4 separate regions of the Homo sapiens genome follow, and regions 1, 2 and 4 are each linked to region 3. The links are contacts of gene promoters, found by promoter capture Hi-C in human tissues and cell types (Jung and others, 2019). All regions are on one chromosome and are shown on one strand. The core of a region is centred on a gene start or on the middle of the fragment in contact, and the rest is flanking DNA. Distances in the headings are between cores, read along the strand shown.

The links. The method cuts DNA at HindIII sites, captures the fragments that hold promoters and counts their contacts. A contact is called where the count stands out against the background at its distance.
Region 1: a fragment that was not itself captured here is called in contact with the fragment with the promoter of BLVRA in region 3 in 1 of the 25 tissues and cell types used here (H1 embryonic stem cells).
Region 2: a contact is called between a fragment that was not itself captured here and the fragment with the promoter of BLVRA in region 3, in 2 of the 25 tissues and cell types used here (IMR-90 fibroblasts and mesendoderm cells).
Region 4: a contact is called between a fragment that was not itself captured here and the fragment with the promoter of BLVRA in region 3, in 1 of the 25 tissues and cell types used here (mesendoderm cells).

Annotation. Positions count from the first base shown.
Region 1 is chr7:43,494,947-43,501,210 of GRCh38, forward strand. HECW1 (HECT, C2 and WW domain containing E3 ubiquitin protein ligase 1) reads left to right here. Exons shown (of 30, transcript NM_015052.5): 20 at 5,753-5,836. Among named protein-coding and RNA genes, the nearest start is that of LUARIS, 24 kb to the right of the region's middle. The HindIII fragment of the contact is 3,285 bases long and covers 808-4,092 here.
Region 2 is chr7:43,299,495-43,305,643 of GRCh38, forward strand. The region is part of intron 3 of HECW1 (HECT, C2 and WW domain containing E3 ubiquitin protein ligase 1); the gene reads left to right. LOC102724903 (a long non-coding RNA gene) reads right to left here and starts at 817. Exons shown (of 3, transcript XR_428133.5): 1 at 440-817. RefSeq lists an enhancer at 4,732-5,232. The HindIII fragment of the contact is 4,198 bases long and covers 676-4,873 here.
Region 3 is chr7:43,755,151-43,760,983 of GRCh38, forward strand. BLVRA (biliverdin reductase A) reads left to right here and starts at 3,530. Exons shown (of 8, transcript NM_000712.4): 1 at 3,530-3,584. It also overlaps the pseudogene LOC107986727. RefSeq lists a cis regulatory region at 1,446-2,213 and silencers at 3,235-3,624, 3,635-3,954. The HindIII fragment of the contact is 11,547 bases long and covers 1-5,833 here.
Region 4 is chr7:43,406,556-43,413,077 of GRCh38, forward strand. It overlaps HECW1 (HECT, C2 and WW domain containing E3 ubiquitin protein ligase 1), which reads left to right. Exons shown (of 30, transcript NM_015052.5): 8 at 1,007-1,176. Among named protein-coding and RNA genes, the nearest start is that of LUARIS, 110 kb to the right of the region's middle. The HindIII fragment of the contact is 6,695 bases long and covers 1-5,640 here.

The DNA.
Region 1 (6,264 bases), core at 1,200-3,699, 260 kb before region 3:
GTCTTTCCGGGAATGACTTCCCTATTAAGGACATCTCATCCCGTTTTAAAGGCTCAGATCAAAAGCAAAACTTCAGTGATCTAGGCAAGCTTTAGTATTTCTTTTTCTTTGAGGGGGTGGGAACTTCCTGATGTTACCATGGCATTTGTTTTTTTGTTTGTTTGTTTTTAATTTTTTTTATTATACTTCTAAGTTCTGGGATAAATGTGCAGAAAGTGCAGGATTGTTACACAGGTATACATGCACCATGGTGGTTTGCTGCACCCATCAACCCGTCATCTACATTAGGTATTTCTCCTAATGCTATCCCTCCCCTAGCCCCCATTCCCCAACAGGCCCCGGTGTGTGATGTTCCGCTCCCTGTGTCCATGTGTTCTCGTTGTTCAGTTCCCACTTATGAGTGAGAACATGTAGTGTTTGGTTTTCTGTTCTTATGTTAGTTTGCTGAGAATGATGGTTTCCTAGTATTTCTTTTGTCTTGCTTTGATAGTATGCTTTTTGTGCCTCGAAGATATTTTTAGATCTCTTGTATTCTGTCATTTACTTGTGTCTCCCTACAGCACTCTAAGCTCTTTAGAGCAAGGCCTTTCTCTTCCTTGTCTTTGTGCCCACTCTGCCCCTTACAACCTGGTCCTCTACTTTGAAAATAGGAAACACCAATTACTTTTAGAGTGAATGAAAGATCTTTAGCATGAACAAGTGATCTTTAGCGTGATGAATGGCCACTTTCATTTATGTTCAACTCTTAAGAATTCTCTCCCCTGGTTTCATTACTGCACTGCTGCAGAAGGCAGAGTCATATTCAGCCACCTGGGTCATTCATTCATGGGCTGCTCTTTGACTCACCTAACAACCCAAGGGAATTTTCAAGGGATTTCCAGGGATGTTGTATTATCTTAAGGGTTTTTGACGCGTGGTTGTTCTTGAACATTCTTTACGTTACTGATTCTACCATTAAGTAGTGAGTTCACTGCTTGCTTTGTGGAAGAATTTCAACTCACCAAAGACACAAAAGTCTCATTTTAATCATTAGAAAAGGTTTTTTTTTAAGTAATTCCCTACATAAGTGAGTGGAATGTATTTCCAAAAGGCAGTAGACTGTTTTCATCCCTATTATATATCACATTACAACAATCCAAGAAACTTTAAATGTTTTGTTGCAATATGGGATTGTACAATTATGATTTTGCAGAGCTGGGGGAACTTGAAATCAGGCCACGTTGGAATTGGAAAAAAAACTTGGAAATTATCTAGTATGGAAACTAATAACCTATTTTAAGGTTATGGACTCCTTTGAGATGCTGATGGAAGCACTTATGGACTCTCCTCCACATATAAATATAAACCTCTGAATATAATTTCAAATAGTTAATGGACCCTAAGGAAACTGTGGACCCAGGTTGAGAACCCAAATATTTCATCAAAAACAGAAGGCTCACGATGACTATCAGAAACTGGACTATGTGATGATAGAACTAAAACAGCAGAAAGCAAAGAGCAAGAACTTGTTCTTCAGGAGGTCAAGCTTAAGAGATGCAGGAAGCCAGGCCCTGCTTTCCATGAGGAGGCATCCACCTGCCCCTGAGTGCCATGTCAGGGTGAGTCAGATCCACTTTGAAGGTTCAGGAGTTGAAGAGAATACCACTCTCCTCAGGACCCCACCCAGAAGAACTCATGGCTTCCTCTGTGGTCCCCAAGAGCAGATGGTGACCCCTGTTCAGCCATTGCTATTCTCAGGGAGTCATGGAGTCTCTGTCTTGGGTCTGCAAAGCCAGTTGCTGGGTTTGAGTATGTAGAAAACTGTCCAGTTGACAGCAGTGACTTGCGGTGAAAAGCAGGAAGCCACATGTAGAGAAGGGGATGGAGCCAGAAAACCCAGAGGTTAATGGCATCTGTTATCTTCAAGGGGCATGGAGGTGGTCCTTCAACTAGTGCTTTGATTGTGTCACTCATCTGAATCAGGATTGTCCCAGGGCTATGTATGCAGTAGCAAGCGAAACAGACCTGTAAATTCTCAATGAATTTACAATCTACTGAGGGAGACAGATAATAGACAAGCTTGGGGTTTGTTTTTTTAAGCCATATACAGCTGCATAATATGTTAAGTGCCATGAAGAACATGATTAGAATTCAGCAATAGTGGATAATATGCTGGTGCAGAGGAAGAGGACTTACATCCTAAACAGAACACAGGGAAGGCTTTTCCAGGTAGGTGATGCTTAAGCTGAAACCTGAAGGATGAGAAGGCATTGTCCCTTGAGATGCAAAGTGGAGATCAGGGAGAGAGTATGCAATGGCCCTGAGGCAGGAAAAGCTTAGATGTAGGTGAAAAATGAAAGAAAGCTAGTGTGGCCCAGGAGTAGATTGGGAGGGTAGGTGAGACCTACCATGGTGAAGTTGGAGAGGGAGGCCCTATCACCAACCGGAAACATTTTATTTGAATTGCGATTCTATTTGAGAAGTGATTGAGAAGTTTTCAGCTGGAAAGAAATATGATTGCATCTGTGTTTTTAGTGACCACAGATGCAATCATATTTCATCTGTTTTTCATGACCACCAATGAAATATGATTGCAGCTGTGGTCGTTAAAAACACAGATGCAATGTTTAGGCAGCTCTGTGGGGAAAAGATAGGCTGGGGAGGGGCATAAGATGGAACAGGGGCTATGCAGGAGACTATTATATTCATCCATGATGATGGTCGTGTGGATAATGGGAAAATATGGATGAAGAGAAGGGAGCAGTTTGGGGTGATACTGTGGATGCAAAAACAACAGGAGCTGATGACAGCTTGAACATGGTGGGTGAGGAGAAGAGAGTAATTAAGAATGACAGCCAAGTGTGGGGCTTGTGCAGGTGAATGGATAATGGCATCATTTACTGAGATGGGAAAGAGTGGAGGAGGAACTGGCTTGAGGAGAGGAAGAATGTCAAGGATTTTATTTTGGATATTGAGTTTTGAGGTCTTTGAAGCCACAAGCGGCTTCAAATGTCAAGATGTCAAGGAGGCAGTCGCCTGTCCTGTCCTGAACTCTAGGGAAAGTGTGCTCTGGAGTTCTCCCGATGGTCAAGGGATATATGTAGGAGAGACAGCTGGCATTCTTGCCCTTAGATGGCTTCCTCAGTTCTCAGTGCACTTTGGGATGGAGTCCCAGGGGCATCTGGAGGTCCCTTACACCACTGGCTATGCATGACATGTTGCCAGACATGACAGAGGATATAATGTCTGGTGGAGAGCCACCAAAACTCTCAGAAAATCGGGCTTAGCATTCAGACACCTGGATGTGGTCCATATGGTGGTGCCACGATAGAACCACTGTGCTGGGTGGCACTTTCTAAACTGGGGACTGCACTTTGCTGCCCTAGTGGAGATGGCCCTCTCTGGGCTTCTTTTTCCCGCAGGGAGGGAGGCCAGTGGCTTAACCAGATGTTGATCCCTTGGGGCAGGAGGATAACCTGCCCAAGGGTACATTATCATTGGGAGAGCATATAGATTTGAGGTCATTCATAAGGCCAAAATCATTAAATTAGAGAAGATTCAAGAGCATCTTCCAAATAACGGGGCTGTGAGGTGGTGTCAGGATTTGGAGGAGAAAGCCCAGGGCTGGGGTTGAGGACATAGGCAGAGGGAGAAGAAGGTGATGAGAGAGATGGGGATGTTCTGTTCTCTTTGCTGGGCTTTCACATGTTCCCTGCTAAATGACATGTGGACACTGCTGCTCCCTTTTTCAACCCAGTCAAAGAAGCCACTGTGAACACCCCCCAGGTTCTGGTGATGCCATTTCCTGCAACGGTGCTTCACCCGCACTGAAGTTGGATCAGAGTGCATTTCCCTGTTTAATCCCATTCTGTCTATCTTTGTAGAGGCTCAAAATCTTCCCTTGCCTTAAAAAAAAAGATCTCCATACCAAAAGGTCAAATTGACTATATTTTTTGCCTGAAAATCTCTAAGTTATGATGAAGATTTGGATTTATATTAATATAATCAAAGAGAGGAAAAAGTTGTACCTGCAGTATTTTGGAAAATAGATTTTTTTTTTCATTCATCTTTTGGGCCAGGCTCAGTGGCTAAAGCCTGTAATCCCAGCACTTTGGGAGGCTGAGGCAGGCGAATCTCTTGAGCCCAGGAGTTCAAGACCAGCCTGCGCAACATGGTGAAACCCTGTCTCTACTAAAAATACAAAAATTAGCCAAGCCTGGTGGTGTGCGTTTGTAGTCCCAGCTACATGGGGGGACTGAGGCAGGAGGATCACTGGAGCCTTGGGAGGTTGGGGCTTCAGTGAGCTGTGATCAGGTCACTGCACTGCAGAGTGAGCAACAGAGTGAGACCCTGTCTCAAAAAAATAAAAAATTTTTTAAAGAAAATACAAAAACCTAGCTGAGTGTGGCGGTGCATGCCTATAATCCCAGCTACTCAGGAGGCTGAGGCACAAGAATCGTTTGAACGCAGGAGGCAGAGGTTGCAGTGAGCTGAGATTTTACCACTGCCCTCCAGCCTGGGCAACAGAGCAAGACTCTGTCTCAAAAAAAAAAGAAAGAAAGAAAGAAAGAAAACAAAAGAAAAGAAAATCATCCATCTTTTACCACTGGGAGAAACTGAGTGAGGGGTATACAGGATCTGTCTGTTTATTTCTTATAATTACACATGACTCTAAAATTACCTCAAAGTGTAAAAATTAAACAAGAAAAGAAAAAAGTTAAAGATTAAAAAAAAACATCCTTAATTTTCCCTATTTCTGCTGCATCTCTTCAAAAAAGGCAAAAAATATTAACTCCTTTGAAGCATGCATACGATAGAAAGATTCTTGGATATGGTGTTTGTAATATTTGAGTAACATCAGGGAAGCAAATTAAAAAGTTAATTTGATCCAAAAAAATCCTACTTATCCATAGACTTACTTGAAATAATTTGCCGAGTTGGAGTTGGAGGTTGTCTAAAAGGATCAGAATACACGAGTTGTAGCTGACAGAGACAAAATTGATGCCTGTGCCTTGACTGACCTGGGAGACTGTTCTTGGTTCTTGGGGCCGGGCCCCCTCTGTGCCCAATGTGGCATCATAAATTTTCCATCAGGCACAAGATTTCTCAAGAGACACTCACCCCGCAACTCACTCTTTCCTCCCATGGCTTCCAACACGACATGAGCCAAGAACAGTCTTTTTTTTTTTTTTTGAGATGAAGTCTTCCTCTGTCGCCCAGGCTGGAGTGCAGTGGCACGATCTCAGTTCACTGCAACTTCCGCCTCCCGGTTCAAGCGATTCTCCTACCTCAGCATCCTGAATAGCTGGGATTACAGGCAGGCAACACCACACCTGGCTAATTTTTGTATTGTTAGTAGAGACAAGGTTTCACCATATTCCTCAGGCTGGTCTTGAACTCCTGATCTCGTGATCTGCCTGCCTCAGCCTCCCAAAGTGCTGGGATTACAAGTGTGAGCCACTGTGCCCCGCCCCAGAACAGTCTTTCAGGAGCAATCTCTTACCCAGCTCCACTCCTGACTGTCTTAGCTACCTGAGGACCTAACTTTGCTGTGTTCCTCAGCTTCTGTACCTGTGCAAGTCTGTAGAAAAGCCATCCCTCATAGAGCATCCTGAGAGCCTGTGATACAAACTTAGAATTCTGCAAAATACATAGGACGTTAGGACATTGCTATTCAGCAGTATTGGAAGAGGAAATAAGAGATCAGAAGAAAATGTATTTCTGAGTTTATGTGTTGGCATCTAATTTTCCTCTTCTTTCTCACATGATTCAGGGAGAAAATCCATTACATTCGGACTGAGGGTAATCACGGGCTTGAGAAGTTGTCCTGTGATGCGGATCTGGTCATTTTGCTGAGGTAGGGGGCTAGGCCTGAAATCCTTCTGGAAAAGCTTCCCTGGGCAGCTCTCCTCCATCACGGCCACCCTGAAAATGGCCTAGACTGAAAAACTCACCGCTTGTTCTAGAGGATTCTAGTAACTGCAACGCAAGTGGGACCCCACCCTTGTACCTGTGTCCATCACAGTCCTTAGATTTGCAATTGAGCTAGCAAGAGCTGCGTAAAGTACTTGATGGAGACTTTGTTGTAGGATTAATCAAGGTTTAAAACAACACTGAGAATTTGCAAGCAGCATGTACCTATCTTTCTGTACTACATTTAAATCTAATTGCTTTTGTTGCTTTGTGAGAAGTGTAAGTGCTGCTACCCCAATTCGTGAACACTTTCTCAGGGATGTAAAACTGACTTTCTTTTCTTTCTTTTTTTTTTTTTTTTTTTTCATATGC
Region 2 (6,149 bases), core at 1,525-4,024, 460 kb before region 3:
TCAAAGGTTCCAAGTTTAGTCCTGCATAATTGAGAAAAAGACTTAAAAAAAAAAGTTTCCAAACTGCCTCAATTGTTGTCCCTTCCTTTTAGCTCTGAAAAATCAGAAAGATTAGCTGTGTGGAAAATGTCAGAAGAGACTTTCTGTTAAATATGTTAAAGAATTTCAGCAGTAAGTGTCGCCTGAGACGTTTAAGAAATCATAGTAGCTAAGTGTCCCCTTCCTTTTAATGTTCTTCTAGAACCCAGTGAAACTTTGGACTGAGGTGATTCCTCCACACTCCCAGCCCACATCACAGAGTCTTAGTGATCATTTCTCCTTTGCTGTCAGAGCTGAGTATCAAATCCCATTTTTTTGTTTTCAAAATAGAATTGTTCCTTTCTTTTACCATTCCCCTGAATAATTGCTAATAAAGCAATATGCCACTCATCTAGGTCACCTGATTTGCTGGTTTTGATCACAGGGATATCTTGATGCTGTTGGACTTTTCCCCATGGAGCTCTTACTCTGTTAGACAGGTGTCCATTCTGCTGTGGCTCACTTAAAAAGCAAGGCTTTGTCTTTGCCTCGTTGTGATTTCTTTCTTCTATCAATGTTGAGAGCTTGACGGAGGTGCTGGTGGGTTAATTCTCCTCCTTATCCTTTCAATTCCCCCATTCTATCCTAAATCACTACAGATAGGCCTATTCTATACATATATTGCCAGTTCTTCCTTATTTCCTTCCTCTTCCAATAGGAATCTCTTGAGGTAAACCACCTCTGCCAGTCCTCCTATCACAGCCTGCTGCTGAGATGGTGCAGCCTGGTGTGGCTAAGGCGTGTGGCAGCCAGAATTGGAACTGAGTGACAGTTAGAGCTAGAAAGAGCACAAGAGTGGGCAGAGTGATGACAGGGAAGGAACCTGGGAAGGAACGTGCTACCTGTGGCCCCATCTGGAATATGAACTGGCTTTGTCTCCTTTCAAGGGTGGAAGAGGGATAGAAGAGGGTGGAAGAAGGGTGGAAGGAGCGAGAGATTCCTTTATATTGCCAATATAGGTATGAAATGTAGGAGAGAGAGATGACTTTATATTGCTAACGGCCATGCCTGCTTCACTCTTCATCATGGCTCTAAGTTGCTCTCATAAATGCTCTGAGACATCAACACTGAATTTATATCAGATATGGCCGTGTTCATCCGGGGCACTTTGATCACAAAAGGAAAGTGCTGCTGCTGCTGGTTCAACCCCACTGTGTACTGATGATGGGCATTATGGTTCATAATCCCAATGACTGGCACACTTATCAGAGCTGCAGTCCAACATGGGGCCTTCTTCTGGCTTGATGGGTGATCTGGAAAAGCAGGTACGATGACCTCCCACACTGATGTGAGAGCTGCACACTGTCCCTGCACCCGCCCAGGAGCCGCCCCTGCTACTTTGTCAGTAACTTCTGCCACGGTGCCACTTGTTTAGACTTGAGGGACCACTTGATTGGTAAAGCTTCTCCCTGCATGTAGACCTTGGCATTCAGGAGAGCTATACTTGGGCTCCCCAAGACACAGCAGCTCTGTCCACCTTGCTCTCCCCCTCATTGCTGCAGTGTGAAGTTTCTAAGGTGAACAAAACCTCCGTGGCCCCCCACTCTCCAATGGAGAAGGTCTTATTTCTTGGTGTGCCATGGGAGACCCCTTTCACACACTTCCAGCTGCCCCCAACACTGTCTGGCAGACAGCTAAGAGGAGCTCTGCTGAATCTGGAAGCTCAGCATGCTTCTAGTAAAGATACGCTTTTCCACGAGAAGTTCCTTCTGCTTAGATTGGATTTCCCTCAGCTCTTGCCCCTTCCTTCCAGGTCCAGCTTCCATGTCCTCCCATCTGGGAAGGTGGTCCCAGCATCTCTCTCCCTTCTAGGGGGGACCATGCCCACCACCCCATTATTGCCCTCACCATTGTGTCATAGTTGACTGCTTAAATGTCTGCCTCCTGCACCAAACTCTCCGAGGCTATGAGCACTGTTTAAGTCCTCTCTGTATCCATACTCAGCATTTAGCACAAGGCCTGGTACACACTAAAGACTCCATCCACATTTCCTGATTGACTGGGCTAAAGGAAGGAAGAAGAAGCCAGATGCAGTGGCTCACGCCTGTAATTCCAGCTCTTTGGGAGGTCAAGGTGGATCACTTGAGGTCAGGAGTTCAAGACCAGCCTGGCCAACATGGTGAAACCCCTTCTCTACTAAAAATACAAAACAATTAGCCAGGTACGGTGGCACGCACCTGTAATCCCAGCTACTCGGGAGGCTGAAGCAGGAGAATCTCTTGAACCCGGGAGGCAGAGGTTACAGTGAGCTGGGATCGCACCATTTCCTTCCAGCCTAGGCAACAAGAGTGGAAACTCTGTCAAAAAAAAAAAAAAAAGAAGCAGGAGAATAAAACCAAAGACAGGATTTACTTAAAAATAAACCCAAAGATGCTGGGTCAAACCACCCAGGGGATATAAGAATTTAAAAGAGAGCATCTTTACAGCACCTTGATCCTCCATGACAAATGATAACATGCTTTTGAGTATTAATTTCAATGAGGATACAAACTCAGCACTGCATCTGAAACCCTCCTAAGTGTATTTCTTAGAACTGTAATCCCTGTCTGGCCCCATCACCTAATAGCAGGCAAATGAGGACACGACCATGAATGGAGGAGGGAAACACACTGGCTTACAACAGCCTGAGGCTCCTCAGGCTTCTCAACAAGCCTGAGGCTCCCTCCCAAGCCAGGCAGCTCAGGCCATGGATGAGGCAGCTAACTGGCCGCAGGGAGTCTCAAGGTCCACTTGGGGCCCTGCTGCTCCCCTGCTGCGTGGTCAGGGCAGGCAGCTGCCCTTCTCAGGCTTCAGCTTCCCGGTGAATAAGAGGAGGGGCTGGCCCAGAACCCTCCCATGACTGTCACTGTGGGTTCCTGTGTGATTCACAGTATTGTGGGTTGGCTTTTGGAGACTGGACTGTAGCCAAGCAGGTGGTGGTGCCCTGGTTACGGGAAGAGGCACAGTGACCCCACTCAGCACAGCACAAGCCCTGCTGGGCTCAGGATGGAGTGAGGCTGAGGTCATCATGGGGGCTCCTCACAAATGCCCGGTACGGGGCCGCCCCGGGAGGATGATGTGGCTGGCTCACAGCAGCTCCACCTCCCTTTCTCTCCTGTATGGTCCGCAGGGCTCCTGGAGCTGGGCGCCTTGGGCCCCTGGAGCCGCACTGTGGTTCTGGGAGGTGAACACATATCCTTTTCCTCTGCAGGTATCAGTAGGTAAAGAGGAAACTTTTCCACTTTCAATCAGGCTAGTGCCTTCCTGAGGAAGAAACAGTATTTCCTAACATTGAGAAGGGAAAAATGGGTCTCTTTCTCACATCTGTAAGTTCCCATTCATTCTGTCTCTGTGTCTTACACACACACCACACACACCCACACACGTGCACACACACATGCGCGCACACACACACACAGGAATACCAGTTCTCACCTTTCCTTTCTGTGTAAACCAGAGGAGGTGCTAAATATTATGAACAGGAATTTGCCCCAGCTAACCTGACGAGGCCCTCCTGGCTGCCACCTTCCTCCCTCTCCCACACCCACAGCCCCCTGCCCATTCCTCTGCCCATACAAACCACCCAGATTTCAGCAACTTCGCTGCTGAACGCCTCCAAACATAAACCTCCCAAATAACCCAGAGCTGCACCAAGCAGTCCTAGACTTGAGCAAAGCAGTGAATGGTCCAATCATGCCCCTCCTGGAGCCTGGCCTCCAGCTGGTTTCTCTTACGTGTGAGTGAGAATGGTGTGCGAGCGACAAGGAGCAAAGACCACCCCACCCCCCGCCCCCCAACACCTGCCATCAAAGGGCTGCAGAGTCAAAAGTGGGAGGGGATGTTCAACCTTACACTTATTGGTGGATTTTTTTTTATGAGCGATAAGGCATTATGTGTTCCTAAAATAATGTGTCTGACTGGCATTTTAACAAGTTCCTTGTATTTTAAATCATGACTTCCTGTGTGGATATTATCTGGCTTGGCTTGATTTGCTTATTAAAATTTTCTCCCCCTAATGTTCCCTTTCAGCCAGCAATGAGTGGGATTTTATTTCTTTTTCAAAGAAAAGAAGCCCACACAATTTAGTTTATGTAATTCTGTGATATTCTTCCACACAATGGCCAGCACAAAAGAAAGCTTTTTTAGCACATGGCTTTGAGGCTGAAAGCACAAATTGAGGCACAGGTTTCAGGAACAGGTGTCTGGGAGCTGAAGAGTTAGACAGAGATGGTGGTTTAGCAGCCACCTCCCACTCTCCTCCCTTACACCTGAGAGCCCCTACACCCGCCCCTGTCCCACAACATCCCTCATACACAGCAGTTCCCAAGCAGAGGTACAAATGGGTAAGCAGGACTCAAATCTCAGGATGTGAGAGGGAGAGGAGGACCCAGGGGCAGTATTTAATCTCATCCCAACACTTTCTTCTTATTTGACAGGTGATGAAGGCAATTCCCAGAGAGGTGGAGCCCTTCTTTTTAGCCTAACGAATTGTTTCCCTTAACAGTCGTGACTCAGAGGAAATGCGTGGGCTGCAGTGATTTTTGTGATCTCTTGTGCCTGCCATTGGGTTGGGTAGGAGGTTTCTGCTTTTAGACTGTTAGGACCAGCAGGGCCCAGCAGCAAGTAGAGCTCTGGATAAAGCTGCCCTGGCCTGTCTCCAAACCCTCCAACCCAGGCCATCCCCACTTCTCCTGTACTGCCTCAGGGATTCCCGGTGCTTCTGCTGGTCCTGCATCCGGACACCTGACCCATCCCAGTGCAGTCCAGGAACCAGGAACTCAATTCGAGCAATTCTGGGCACCAAGCCTAGTGCTTACAAGAATTCCTGAGCTCAAGGAGCAGAGCCCCATGTCCAGGTGCACCCCAGCCCACACGTTACCCACAAGTGCATTCATTCATTCAACACAGTTATTTATTTATTTATTTATTTATTTATTTATTTATTTATTTATTTATCGATATGGAGTCTCACTCTGTCACCCAGGCTGGAGTGCAGTGGCGCAATCTTAGCTCACTGCAGCCTCCACCTCCCTGGTTCAAGCGATTCTCCTGATTCAGCCTCCTGGGATAGCTGGGATTACAGACACGTGTCACCACACATGGCTAATTTTTTTGTATTTTTAGTAGAGACGGGGTTTCACCATGTTAGCCAGGCTGGTCTCAAACTCCTGGCCTCAGGTGATATGCCCGCCTTGGCCTCCCAAAGTGTTGGGATTACAGGCGTGAGCCATAGCACCCAGCCTCAACAAAGTATTTACTGAGCATCATCTATGTTCTTGCCAGGCACTACTTTTGCTGGAAATGCAGACCTAAAGGAGCTAGGCTGGGCTGCTGTCTTGGTGCCTGCCTTCTAAGTAGAGGGGACTGACAAAAAATAAGTTGACAGGTAAGGCAGTTTTAGACAGAACATCTCATTCAGGCTCTGATCGAAATCTCCATTGAGGCCAGAGAGGAAGCTGCGGGACTGAGAACAGTCACTGAGTTCAGAGTGGAAGCTTTGGGGTAAAGCTTCCCCTAGAAGTGACTGAGCCAGGTAGACTTTGGAATGTGGTCGGAAGGCAACACAGCACAGTCGCTCAGTCCCTAATGAACTCTCTTCCTGCGATGACCTTGGCTTTTGTCAAAGCCTTGTACCAGGAATCTGCCACTATAATCGTGATTAAAAGTCTCTTAAGATCTTACTCACCACATTTCATTGTGTTTCCTACAGAAAGTCTAAGATGAAACATTTCGTTAAGAACTTGGAGGAAGAAAAAAGTCCCTGTATTCTGATCATAAGAACTAAGCTTTCCTTTTATCTTCTTGGCTGCCGAGAAGCTCAGAGAAGTATCTGAATCTCAATTACTGCAATTCTGTCCATCTGTTTTATAATTTGGAGAGAATGCTTAAGAATGATAAAAGTGCCCTCTTATAATCGCCCATAAACAGGCTCAAATCCCCATTTCCTGCCACACGATGGATGACCTCAGAATTTTTATTAACATTCTGAGCTGGGTTTTCTAGCAACCTGAGAATAGTGAAACTGGATAGTGTTTTGTTGTTGTTGTTGTTGTTGTTGTTGTTTGTTGTTTGGGGGGGACAGAGTCTCATTC
Region 3 (5,833 bases), core at 2,280-4,779:
CTGCCTCAGCCTCCCGAGTAGCTGGGACTACAGGCGCCCCCCACTACGTCTGACTAATTTTTTGTATTTTTAGTAGAGACGGGGTTTCTCCGTGTTAGCCAGGATGGTCTCGATCTCCTGATCTCGTGATCTGCCCGCCTCGGCCTCCCAAAGTGCTGGGATTACAAGTGTGAGCCACTGCGCCTGGCCTTTTCTTTTTCTTTGATACAGAGTCTCACTCGTCGCCCAGGCTGCAGTGCAATGGCATGATCTTGGCTCACTGCAACCTCTGCCTCCCAGGTTCAAGCAATTCTCCTGCCTCAACCTCCCGAGTAGCTGGGATTATGGGCACGTACCACCATGCCTGGCTAAATTTTTTTTTTTTATTTGTATTTTTAGTAGAGACGGGGTTTCACCACATTGGCCAGGCTGGTCCTGAACTCCTGACCTCAGGTGATCTGCCCACCTCGGCCTCCCAAAGTGCTGGGATTACAGGTGTGAGCCACCGCGCCTGCCCCTTTTTTTCTTTTTTTGAGACGGAGTCTCATTCTGTCGCCCAGGCTGGAGTGAGGTGGGGAGATCCCAGCTCACTATAACCTCTGCCTCTCAGATTCAAGCGATTCTCCTGCATCAGCCTCCTGAATAACTGGAACTACAGGTACGCTCCACTGTGCCTGGCTAATTTTTGTATTTCTAATGGAAACGGGGTTTCACCATGTTGCCCAGGCTGATCTCAAATTCCTGACCTCAAGTGATCTGCCTGCCTCGGCCTCCCAAAGTGCTGGGATTACAGGCATTAAGCCACCGCACCCGGCCTCTGTCAGAGATTTCTTCACCAAACCCTCCTTCCACTCTCCAATTCCTTCTTTTTATTTATTTATTTTATTTTATTTTTTACTTTTATTATTTTTTTAATTTTTTTTTTTTTAGATGGAGTCTCACTTTGTCTCCCAGGCTGTAGTGCAGTAGTGCTATCTTGGCTCACTGCAACCTCTGTCTCCCGGGTTCAAGTGATTCTCATGCCTCAGCCTCCCTCCCAGAGTAGCTGGGAGTATAGGCATATGCCACCATACCTGGCTAATTTTTGTATTTTTAGTAGAGACGGGGTCTTACCATGTTGCCCAGGCTGCGACCTGCCTGCCTGGGCCTCCCAAAGTGTTGCGATTACAGGTGGCTCCCGCCTGATTCTTTCTTACATCTTTGGAGATCTCTTCCTAGAATTTCACATTAGTATATCTTGTTGTCCTAATCAAAATCTATACTTTCATATCTTGTTACACATAGGAGAAAAAGAGCTAAGAGAATGACACAGAAATGGAGCTGGAGCCTTAATACACCTCCTAACTGTTAATCTGTTTGGGTGGGGTTTCTGTCACTTGTGGCCTACAGCAGTCTTACTGTCCCCCCAACCTCCCACAAAGTTCTTCAGGTTGAAGAGAGTCACTACTTTGTAGAATGGGAAGCTCTTACTCAAAAAAGTAGAAACTGAATACAAAACTAGACTTTAGAAGGATAAGATAAATAAATCAATGCATTCATAACACATCATTACAAGAAAGTGAGGGGGTTAGAGGTCTCATCTTTAAATTCTGCTCTCAAGGACATGGAGGGCCCCTCTCACAGGCTTTCCCAAAGCTCCTCTGGGTGTACTGGTCTGACTCAGCAAGTGAACATCTGTGGTTTTGCCTAGCCAGCATCCCTTCTCCTAGCAGCAGCACTCAGCATGTCCTTTTGGGGAATCACTCTTTTCTCTTGTGGTTTATTTAAAGTGACTGCACAATCAGACCCCAGAGTTTGGCTTATGTCCTAGGCCTTGCCAGTGAAAATATGGTACCTCATCAGTGGCAGTTATTTTTCCGAGAAAGGACATATCATGACCCAAGGGGCAGCAGCAGGGAGGGGTGGATGGAAGAGACAGATAACAAACAATAAGCTAAATAAACAAATTCAGTCAGGAGCTAAAGAAATAAGTCATTCAGGAGTGGGGCAGGTGGCAATTTCAAATGGAGTGGTTAGGGTAGTTCTCAATGAGGCAGCATTTGAGAAAATATCAGGAAGAGTGAGAAGTAGTCGAGCATTCCAAACAGACAGGAGCCTGTGCAAAGACCCTGCAGCAGAGCCCTGTCTGCCTTGCATAAGAAATAGCAGGGAGGCCAGAGTGACTGGAGCAGAGTGAGCCAGTGGGGAGGCAGTAGCAGATGAGGTTGTAGGGGTAACAGAGGAGCAGATCAGGCAGGGCTTTGGGTTTTACTCTGAGTTTGGGAAACCACTGGGAAGGTTTTGGGCAGAGGAGGAATTTGATCTGGCTTTCTTTTTTTAAGGTCACTCTGGCTGCTTTATGGGGACAGGCTGCAGGGATATCAGGGAAGAGACCACTGTCATGACCCAGGTAGCAGATGATGGAGGCAGAGGTAAGAAGTGGTCAGGCTCTGGGTATGCTAGGGAGATCCAACCAACAGAATTTTTGGGCCCTGGAGGTGGGATGTGAGAGAAAGGTTTCTGAAACAGCAAGGTTTCTGGCCTTGACAACTGGAAGATGGAGTTGCCATCGAGATGGTGATGCTATGGGGAAGAGATCAGGGGCACAGATTTGGATGTGTTGAGATTGAAATGTATTTTAGAGATCCAAGAGGAGGTATTAAGGAGGCAGCTGGATAGAGGAGTATGGAGTTCAGGAGGCAGGTCCCGCCTGGAGATAAAAATTCAAAGCCAAGCCTTCTCTCTTTGCACTCAACAAAACCTCACTTAAACAGGCTTGTCAGGTCATGGAATACGGTACTAGAACTCTTTGTTGGGGAAAATGCCAGTCAACCTTACCCGTCAGAACGCTGCCTTTAAGATCAGAGATCTCTTTCCTTCAGCCTAATCCACCCCTCTCCCTGTTTTCTCCCCTAGCCCCACTAGGCTAGAAGCTCCCTGGCTTCTCCCACATCAGGATCCCCAACAAACCCATTCCCAGGTGGATAAGAGCCCAGGCAGTTCCCTAGACCACGTTCACTACTTCCTAGCTACCCAAGAGCAGGACATCGCAGACACCGGCCTCCTGGAATATTCCCTCCGCTCCTCACATTTACAGGAAGGACTCAGGTAAGCCTCGGCGCCAGTTCAGTCGGCCCGGGGCCACTAAATACCAATGGGATCCAGTGGGTTCTACGTGGTGAGTGGGGGGCGGATAAGAGAGATGCGACACCCCCCGGGCCTGCCCCCCCCACGCCGGGGCCAGGCACACCGTGAGGGGGCCAGGCACACCGTGAGGGGGCCCAGCCACTTCCATACGCCCTCCGGTCGGCCGGCACCCACCACCCACCCCTCGCCACCAAGCTGGGTGCAGAGAACAGGGCAGGCGCACGGACGGTTCTTACGGCCCCAGGCGCCAGACCCAGGGCACAGAGGCCAGGATCTCACGCGCGACCGCACGAGGCCGGGACCCTCCCTCCCCTTCCGTCCACTCCCTTCCCCACCGCCTCCGGTCCCCTCCCGGTCTCCGCCACCCCGCTTCGGGGCCCCCGCCCCCCAGCCGGGCAGCCAATCGGAGCTGGGATCCCGCCCCGGTCCGCAAAGCCGGTGGCGCCCGGAGGCTGCACGGAGAGCGGTGCCCGCGTCAGGTGAGGCGCGCGCGGGGAACGGGGGTCGCGCGCAGGGGAGCGGGGGTCGCGCGCGGCTTCCATAGAGCGCTAGGGCCTGAGCTCGAAGCCCCAGGCCCGCAGGAGGCCCGGGCCCGCGGCCGCCAGAGCCGGGACGCAGCCTGGGCGCCGCCTGCCCCGCCCCGCCCCGCCCGGGCCCGGAGTGAGGACGCGGTCGGAGGCCCAGCAGCGCGGGTCCCGGCAAGGGGCTTTCTCAACTACACAAAAGACAGTCTAAAAAATTAAGTCTCCATTTCGGTTAAGACTGCCCGTAGTTTCGGTTTTTATGTAGACCCAAGAGGGCAGGCTCGGCGTCCGCGTGCCGCGTAGTCCGGCGGCTCCAGGAGCGCGAGCGGCTGGGCCCGGGCGTAGCCACCGCAGGGCCGCTAGCTCGGCCGGGACCCGCCTGGGATGCCCTGGGGTCTGCTCCGCTGGGGCGAATCCTGAGGCGCCACGCGAGGCACTTGGCCTCTCCTAGCCCCGCTTTCGTTTTTGGAAACTGGAAACTATCACTTATTTCGTAGACGGTGTGAGGGTTACATGACAGTGTTCTGTAAAGTGCACTCTACATATGAAGTGCTCAGAAATATGGCTAATAATGAGGGTATTTATAAACTACTTAAATTATAAAAAGAATGAGACATCAGACTTACAGTTTTGGATACTAATTTTTTTCACTTAACGTTCATTATGTGATAGGAGTTTTCCATCCTATTATACCGCTGTGCGATCTGATCTTGGGCACGTTAACCAACCTCTTGTTGCCTCGATTTTCTCACCTGTAAAAGTGGGGGTAATCATAATGCTTACTTAGTAGGATAGCCCTGAAGAATAAGTGACTTAGCGAACATAAATAGCTTACAATAGGGTTTTCAGCATGGGAAGGATTCAGTAAATGTTAGCTGTCATCATCACCACCTACAAAGGAAGCAATACTGTGCTGAAAGTTTTTCCATCATTAATGTAATTTCTATAGTACGATTCCCAAGAAGATATTAAAATTATGGAAATAAAGGTATTGGTATATTCCTAATTATTTCCTAAAAGATTGTATTGATAAATATGCTCATCCTTCCCTTAACGGGATGCATTCCAGAAAAACAAGTCAAATGTTAGACAAAGTATCAGAAGGGAAATTCTGTAGCCAGAGAGCTAAAAATTACAATAGGGTCTCTAATTATACTTCAACTTTTTTAGGAATAATTCTCAGTGTGTTTTCCCACATTTCATATGTAATTTTTTTTTTTTTTTTTTTTTGAGACAGAGCCTCGCCCTGTCACCAGGCTGGAGTACAGTGGCGCGATCTCGGCTCACTGCAACTTCCACCTGCTGGGTTCAAGCAATTCTTCTGACCTCAGGTGATCCACCCGCCTCGGCCTCCCAAAGTGCTGGGATTATAACAGGCGTGGCATGAGTCACCGCGCCCGGCCGATCTTTACTTTTTTATTCTTTGTACCCCCTGCCTATCCAGTTAGCATGTGATTAAAGTCAAAGATTTGCCACTTTGGGCCACATCTATTAATTTTCATCTTTGTTATAATTGTATTTAGTTTTTGATCTACACTGCTTATTACTCCCAGTCATTTTTTCTAGAACTGAAAATCTGGTAAAATACTCAAAATTGCACTGACTTCTATGTAGAGGCGACACTCCATCAGAACCGTGGGCTGACAGGGAATCCCACTGTGCAGGAGCTGCGCGCATTTTCATTTCTGATTCTCTTTGGCGTATCCAGGACTCTGATGACATGATCATATATTTATCAGTAGTAACAGGTTGGGCCATTTGTTTTTTGTGGTAAATCATATATTTAAGATTTTAGAAATAAGTTGATAGCCATGTATTTTGGAATTTGAAAAAGACATTGCATTACTCAGCTTCAAATTAAGCTTTAATCAAATAGTGAAACTTTCCATTAATGGACAGTGTATACCTTTTTGTGTATTTAAAAAAAAAAACACTGAATATAGTGCCTTTGTGACAGGGGAGCTTAGTTCCTGACAATGTCCTCTTGAGTCTTTTTTTTTTTTTTTTGAGATGGAGTCTCACTGTGTCGCCCAGGCTGGAGTGCAGTGGCGCCATCTTGGCTCACTGCAACCTCCGCCCCCTGGGTTCAAGTGATTCTCATTCCTCAGCTTCCTAAGTAGCTGGGATTACAGGCACGCACCACCATGACCAGCTAATTTTTATACTTTTAGTAGAGACAGGGTTTTGCCATGTTGGCTAGGTTG
Region 4 (6,522 bases), core at 1,043-3,542, 350 kb before region 3:
GTTTCACTTGTGTATAAATGTAAATAATTTTGTTTGAAAAATACTTCAATAATAGAAAAGCTTTAAAAATTATATTCCTTGGCTGGGCACAGTGGCTCACACCTGTAATCCCAACACTTTGGGAGGCCGAGGCGGGCGGATCACCTGAGGTCAGGAGTTCAAAACCAGCCTAGCCAACACAGCGAAAATCTGTCTCTACTAAAAATACAAAAATTCTCCAGGCATGGTGATAGGCACTTGTAATCCCAGCTACTCGAGAGGCTGAGGCAGGAAGAAATGCTTGAACCCAGGAGGCAGAGTTTGCAGTGAGCCAAGATCCCACCACTGCACTTCAGCCTGGGTGACTCCATCTCAAAAAAAATTATATTCCTTGACATCATCAATATATTTCTAATAAATATAATGTGATTTCACATTATCCAACTATAAACTGTTGCCTTAAATGACCTTGTGCACACACACTCTTTCTGTCTCTCTCTCCTTGTGCAGCATGAAATTGTACATGGTCAGATATCTTCAATTAAACAGAACAGCTCGATTTTCAAAGCCCTGCCCTCCCTGGCAGCAGGGTTTCTCAGAACTCTCCTCATTGACTGCACTCAGCCCCGTGGAGGCCAGGTCTTGTTTGTTCTTTCCTCCATTGTCCACGCTCTGTGCTCTTTTAATCCTCTCCTTTCTCTTTATTTCTGCCAATTCTCTCACCTTACTCAGTGAGGCCCACATATATCGTGAGACTACAACCCCTATTTTTTTAATGTCTCCACCTTGCAGAGGAATTTTACACCCGGACCCATCAAATTTCCAAAGTTGGACTTTCTCTCCCTGTGCTACCCACGTTTCCTGGGGTGACCCTCACTCCTTCACCCCAGCCTGTTTACCTGCCTGAGTAACACTAGAGATCTAGTTCATAAGGGCCAATGGTCCTCTCATGAAAGGTGTGGTTACCAAATGCCAGTCGTTAACCTCCCTAAAACATATTTAAATTAAAGTATCCTTTATTTTATAGATTTCCAAGCCATGGGGTTGAAGAAAGGGATGTTTTTCAACCCAGACCCTTATCTGAAGATTTCCATTCAGCCTGGGAAACACAGCATCTTCCCCGCCCTCCCTCACCATGGACAGGAGAGGAGATCCAAGATCATAGGCAACACCGTGAACCCCATCTGGCAGGCCGAGGTGAGTGCTGTGGGCCCTGAAAAAAAGCCCAAGTAAAAGTGAAAGGGCTGACTGTGAACCAGCCCTCCTCCTTCCCTCCATTCATGGAGCCCTGGACTCTGCTGCTCAATCTATGGCTGTCATGGTCTTAGAAGGGAGCCATGTTCTCCAGGGGTTGCAACTCAGGGATCTTGATCAAGTCCATCCGGACAGTACTAACACACTTTTCATTGCACTGCATGCAGTAGCCTCTTCTGATTCAGAACCCATGCCGCGAGCAGGACGGCCTTTCCCTCTGCCCTTCATGTGGGAGAAGGAAGACAAGAGTTGTGATCAGAGCCTTCCAGTTTCTCCACAGCTCTTCCCATGCATGTGATCCTTGAGCAAGGGTGTCAAATCTTAAATATAGCCTTCTAGACCAGTTTCAGAGATTCTAAAACTGGGAGGTTCCTGGGATAGGTGAATCAGTAAGCCCTAAAATATCCCTGGTTGGGTTAAATATTGTTTGATTTAAATAGATAATGAAGCCTAATGGTTTATCCTATCTTCATGATTTGCAAAGGGCTGGGCAGCTTGCTACAGTATTGAATAGTCTATGTTGTCTACAAAGGCCCTTCTCCACTCCTGAAAGTGTTGCCTTTGCCAGGGGTTAGGAGGGTCCTCCAAGTTCTCTCCTAAAGGACATGTAGAAAGTCGGCACCACTTATTTGGCCAGGCAAGGTAGCTCTTAGGGAGGCTAGGGCAGGTGAATCGCTTGACTCCAGAAGTTCAAGACCAGCCTGGGCAATATGGCAAAACCCCATCTCCACCAAAAAAAAAAAAAAAATTAGCTGAGCCTGGCGGTGTGTGCCTGTGGTCCCAGCTACTGGAGAGGCTGATGTGGGAGGACTTCTTGAGCCTGACAGGCAGAGGTTGTAGTGAGCTGGGATCATGCCACTGCACTCCAACCTGGGTGACAGAGCGAGACCCTGTCTCTAAAAAAGAAAGAAAAAAGAAAGTCATCACCACCCATTTGGCTGCCTCCCTGCCAGACCTGAGCTTGAAGCTATAACCTCCAAACCATGTGACTGAGGGGAGGGGAGGCCTAGGTCATGAGAGTGGATGGGGTATAATGTAGGTTAAAAGTACAGTTTTACAGTCATAGAAACCTGGATTCTAATCCCAGTGTGGCCAGTTAATAGTTTATAAATTTGAGAGATCAGTTATCCTCCACCTGAGCCTTAGATTACCCTCATCAGCCTATTATTGATGGAAACGTGCTCCCACCAAAGGAACTTGCTTTGGAGAGGATTTCTTCCTTTATTTTTCAGAGTAGATCATCTCTGATTTAGAGCTTTCAAGCATCCTTGACAAGAAAACATAATTAGACATATGAGAGCAAAGATTTTTTATTATCTATTAAATCATACCACCCCCTTCCTGGGCTTAATTAGCGCTCTCCCAGGCTTCCCAGAAGAGCTTCGTTAGAGCTTTGAAGTGGACGTGAGGGAAATAGACTTGTACTTAAACTTCCTCCTAGCGTTGGTTATCAACAGATTCTAAAACACTGATAGCACCGCTAGAATGGAATAATGAATCTTAATTTGTTTCTTCAGTCCTGCCTGTGTTCATCAATTATTTCTGAACTCTTCCCTGCATTCCTAGAGATAATAAAAGATGTCAAAAGAATTTATTTTGTATGGGGGGAAAGGCTTCTCTCTTCTGAAGGACTTTAGAGGAACCTGTTCTAAGACATTTAGTCATAAAGGTGTTTTAAGTGTCAGGGAATGTTTGGAAAATCCAGCACTATCAGAATGTTTTTTGGCTAAAAACGTCAACTAGAATTCACTTTAAGTTCTGAAATGATTTCTGAAGCTTTGGTTAACACTGATTTTGTTCTGGCAGAATACTGGCAAACTCTCCCCAGCCCTCTGCTCTGGGCCACCTCCCTTCCATCCCACGTGCTGCAGTTGGAGTTATTGATCTAAAATATGCCTCATCTCATGTCCCCCTGGTAAGGCTCAGGCTGAGGATAACTGATGTCCCAAGTTAAACAGTGTGTAACTGGCTAAAGGAGATTTGAACCAAGGTTTGTGTTGCTGCAAAACTGTCCATTCAACCCCTAAATTGTACTACAGTTCCCAGGGTCCAAGTGTCAATGTCATAGCTCCTCTGCAGAGCATTCAAAGCCTTCTTTGATCAGGCATTGCTTACCATTATGTCAGTTAAGGATGTATTTGGCTCCATGCAAGGGAAAGTCTGGCTGGCTCTGATATTTCTCACAAACAAGACATCCAGAGGGAGGTGATCCAGGCGGTGCCGCTGCTGAGTGAGCCCCCAGGGATCCCAGCTCTCCGGGCCTGCCACTGCACCATCCTTAGCAGATGGCCTCATCCTCCTCTGTTAAAGCCTCAAGTCCAAATTCCAGGCAGGAAGAAAGCAACAGGCCAAAAAAGCCTTCTCCTTGCAAGACTTTGCATTTTCTTCCTGGGAGAAAATGACTGGGTGGCTTAAACAACAGATATGTATTTCTCAAAGTTCCGAAGCTGGGAAGTCCGAGCCCAGGATGCTGGCACGGTTGGGTTCTGGTGAGGGCCTCTTTGGGGATGCAGATGGCTGCCTTCTTGCTCCATCCACACGTTAGAAAGAGAGAAAAGGAAAGAGAGCACACTCTTATAAGGACACTAATCCCATCGTGAGGACCCTATCCTCATGACTCCTCTAAACGTAATGACCTCCAAAGGCCCGGCCTCTTAATACCATCACTTTGGGTGTTAGAGTTTCACATATGAACTTGGGGGTTGGTGGTGGAAGGAGACACACACACACACACATTCAGTCTATAACAGGTTTCAGTCCACAACAGGAAGTTTTCCTCCTCATATTTTCTGGAAATGTCTGTGTATAATTATTATTTCTTCCTTAAATGTTTGATATAATTTACCAGTGAAAACATCTTAGGCTGGAGTTTCTCTGTGAGAAGACTTTAAATTATGAATTTAGTCTTTTAAATAAAAAGAGTCATTTAGATTACCTATTTCTTCTAAGAGAAAGCATTTGTCTTTCAAGAAATATTGCCATCTTTTTGTGTTGTTTGGCATAAAGTTGTTCAAAGTATTGTTTTATTGTCTTTTAATGTTTGTAGGCTTATTAAGGACAATACCTCTTTCATTTATATATTGGTGAATTGCTTTTTTTCTCTTTGTTTGTTAACCAATCTAAATATGGGTTTATTAAATTTGTTTATTTTGTGAAAGAACTAGCTCTTGACATCATTTTCTCTATGTTTAACTGTTTTCTATTTATTTTTATATATGCCCTTATTTTCATTTATTTATCTCCTTTATTGCCTTCTATTTTTTTTTTTTTAGCTCCTTAGGGTAAAAGTCTAGGTCTTGCTTTTAGACTTACATTTATTCTCTAATACAATTATTTAAGCAATAAGTTTTCTTCTAATCTCTGTTTTAACTGCATTTTATAAATTTGTATATAATTTATACTTTTATTATCATTCCGTCAAAAATATTTCTTCATATTCCTTCTTTGACCCATGGATTATTTTGAAATAAGTTGTTTAATTTCCAAACCTGGGGATTTTCCTAAATATCTTCTTGTTACTGACTTTTAATTTTATTTTATTGTGGTTAGAGAACATACTCTATATGATTGCAATCTATTTAAATTTATCAAGCCATGTTTTACAGTCCAGCATATGATGCATTTTGGTAGGCTTACCATATCAACTTGAAAAGAATGTATATTCTCCTATTGTGGCATATCAAGTCCTATAAATATCAGTTGAGTCAAGGTGGTTGACTGAGTTGTAGAGATTCTCTGTGTCTTTATTGCTTTCTATGTCTAGCTGTTCTATCAGTTGCCACAAGAAGCATGTTTAAATCCTTTACTATGTTCATGGAATTGTCTGTTTCTCTAATTCTGTCAACTTTTGTTTCATGTATTTTGAAGCTCTGGTATTAGGTACTTGCATAGTTATGTCTATGCATCATGTTTATAATTCTAAAATATTTTTCTTTATTTTTGGTAGTGCTCCTTGTCTTGAAGGCTGTTTTATCACACTAATATAGCCACTCCAGCCTCCCTTATGTTTAGTGTTTGTTCCATTTACTTTCAAAATGTTTGTGTTTTTACTTATAAAGTGCATTGCCTATGGACAGCATATTCTTCGGACTTAATTTCATTTATTACAATAATCTCTGCCTTTTAATAGGAATGAATGGCCCATTACCATTTAACATATTTATTCATGTAATTGTATTTAGGCCTACTATTTTATTATTTGTTTTCTGTTTGTCCTCTGGATTGTTTTCTTATTTCCCCTTCTTGACTTGTTTTTGGATTATTTGAATATATTTTAGAATTTCATTTCAATTTATCTACTGAATTTTTAGGTACACGGCTTTGCGTTACTTCCTTTGTAGTTGCTTTAGGGACCATAAAATACCTTCCTATATTTTCATGATCTACATTGAGTTAATTTTGTACCACTTTACATAAAATGCAGTAACTCTTCAACAATATTACCTGCATTTATCCACACTCGTGATCTTTCTTGTTATAGTTATTATATATATCACATTGTATATACATTATAAACCCTACATGACGATGTTAAAAATTTTTGCTTTAAGTGGATGTGTATTTTAAAGAAACTAGGAAAAAAATATAGTCCTTAATGCCTCCCCATACATTTCCTATTTCTAATGCTTTTCATTTCTTTTATTTATTTATTTATTTATTTATTTATTTATTTTAATTATTATACTTTAAGTTTTAGGGTACATGTGCACCTTGTGCAGGTTAGTTACATATGTATACATGTGCCATGCTGGTGCGCTGCACCCACTAACTCGTCATCTAGCATTAGGTATATCTCCCAATGCTATCCCTCCCCCCTCCCCCCACCCCACCACAGTCCCCAGAGTATGATATTCCCCTTCCTGTGTCCATGTGATCTCAATGTTCAATTCCCACCTATGAGTGAGAATATGCGGTGTTTGGTTTTTAGTTCTTGCGATAGTTTACTGAGAATGATGATTTCCAATTTCATCCATGTCCCTACAAAGGACATGAACTCATCATTTTTTATGGCTGCATAGTATTCCATGGTGTATAAGTGCCACATTTTCTTAATCCAGTCTATCATTGTTGGACATTTGGGTTGGTTCCAAGTCTTTGCTATTGTGAATAATGCCGCAATAAACATACGTGTGCATGTGTCTTTATAGCAGCATGATTTATACTCATTTGGGTATATACCCAGTAATGGGATGGCTGGGTCAAATGGTATTTCTAAATCTAGATCCCTGAGGAATCGCCACACTGACTTCCACAATGGTTGAACCAGTTTACAGTCCCACCAACAGTGTA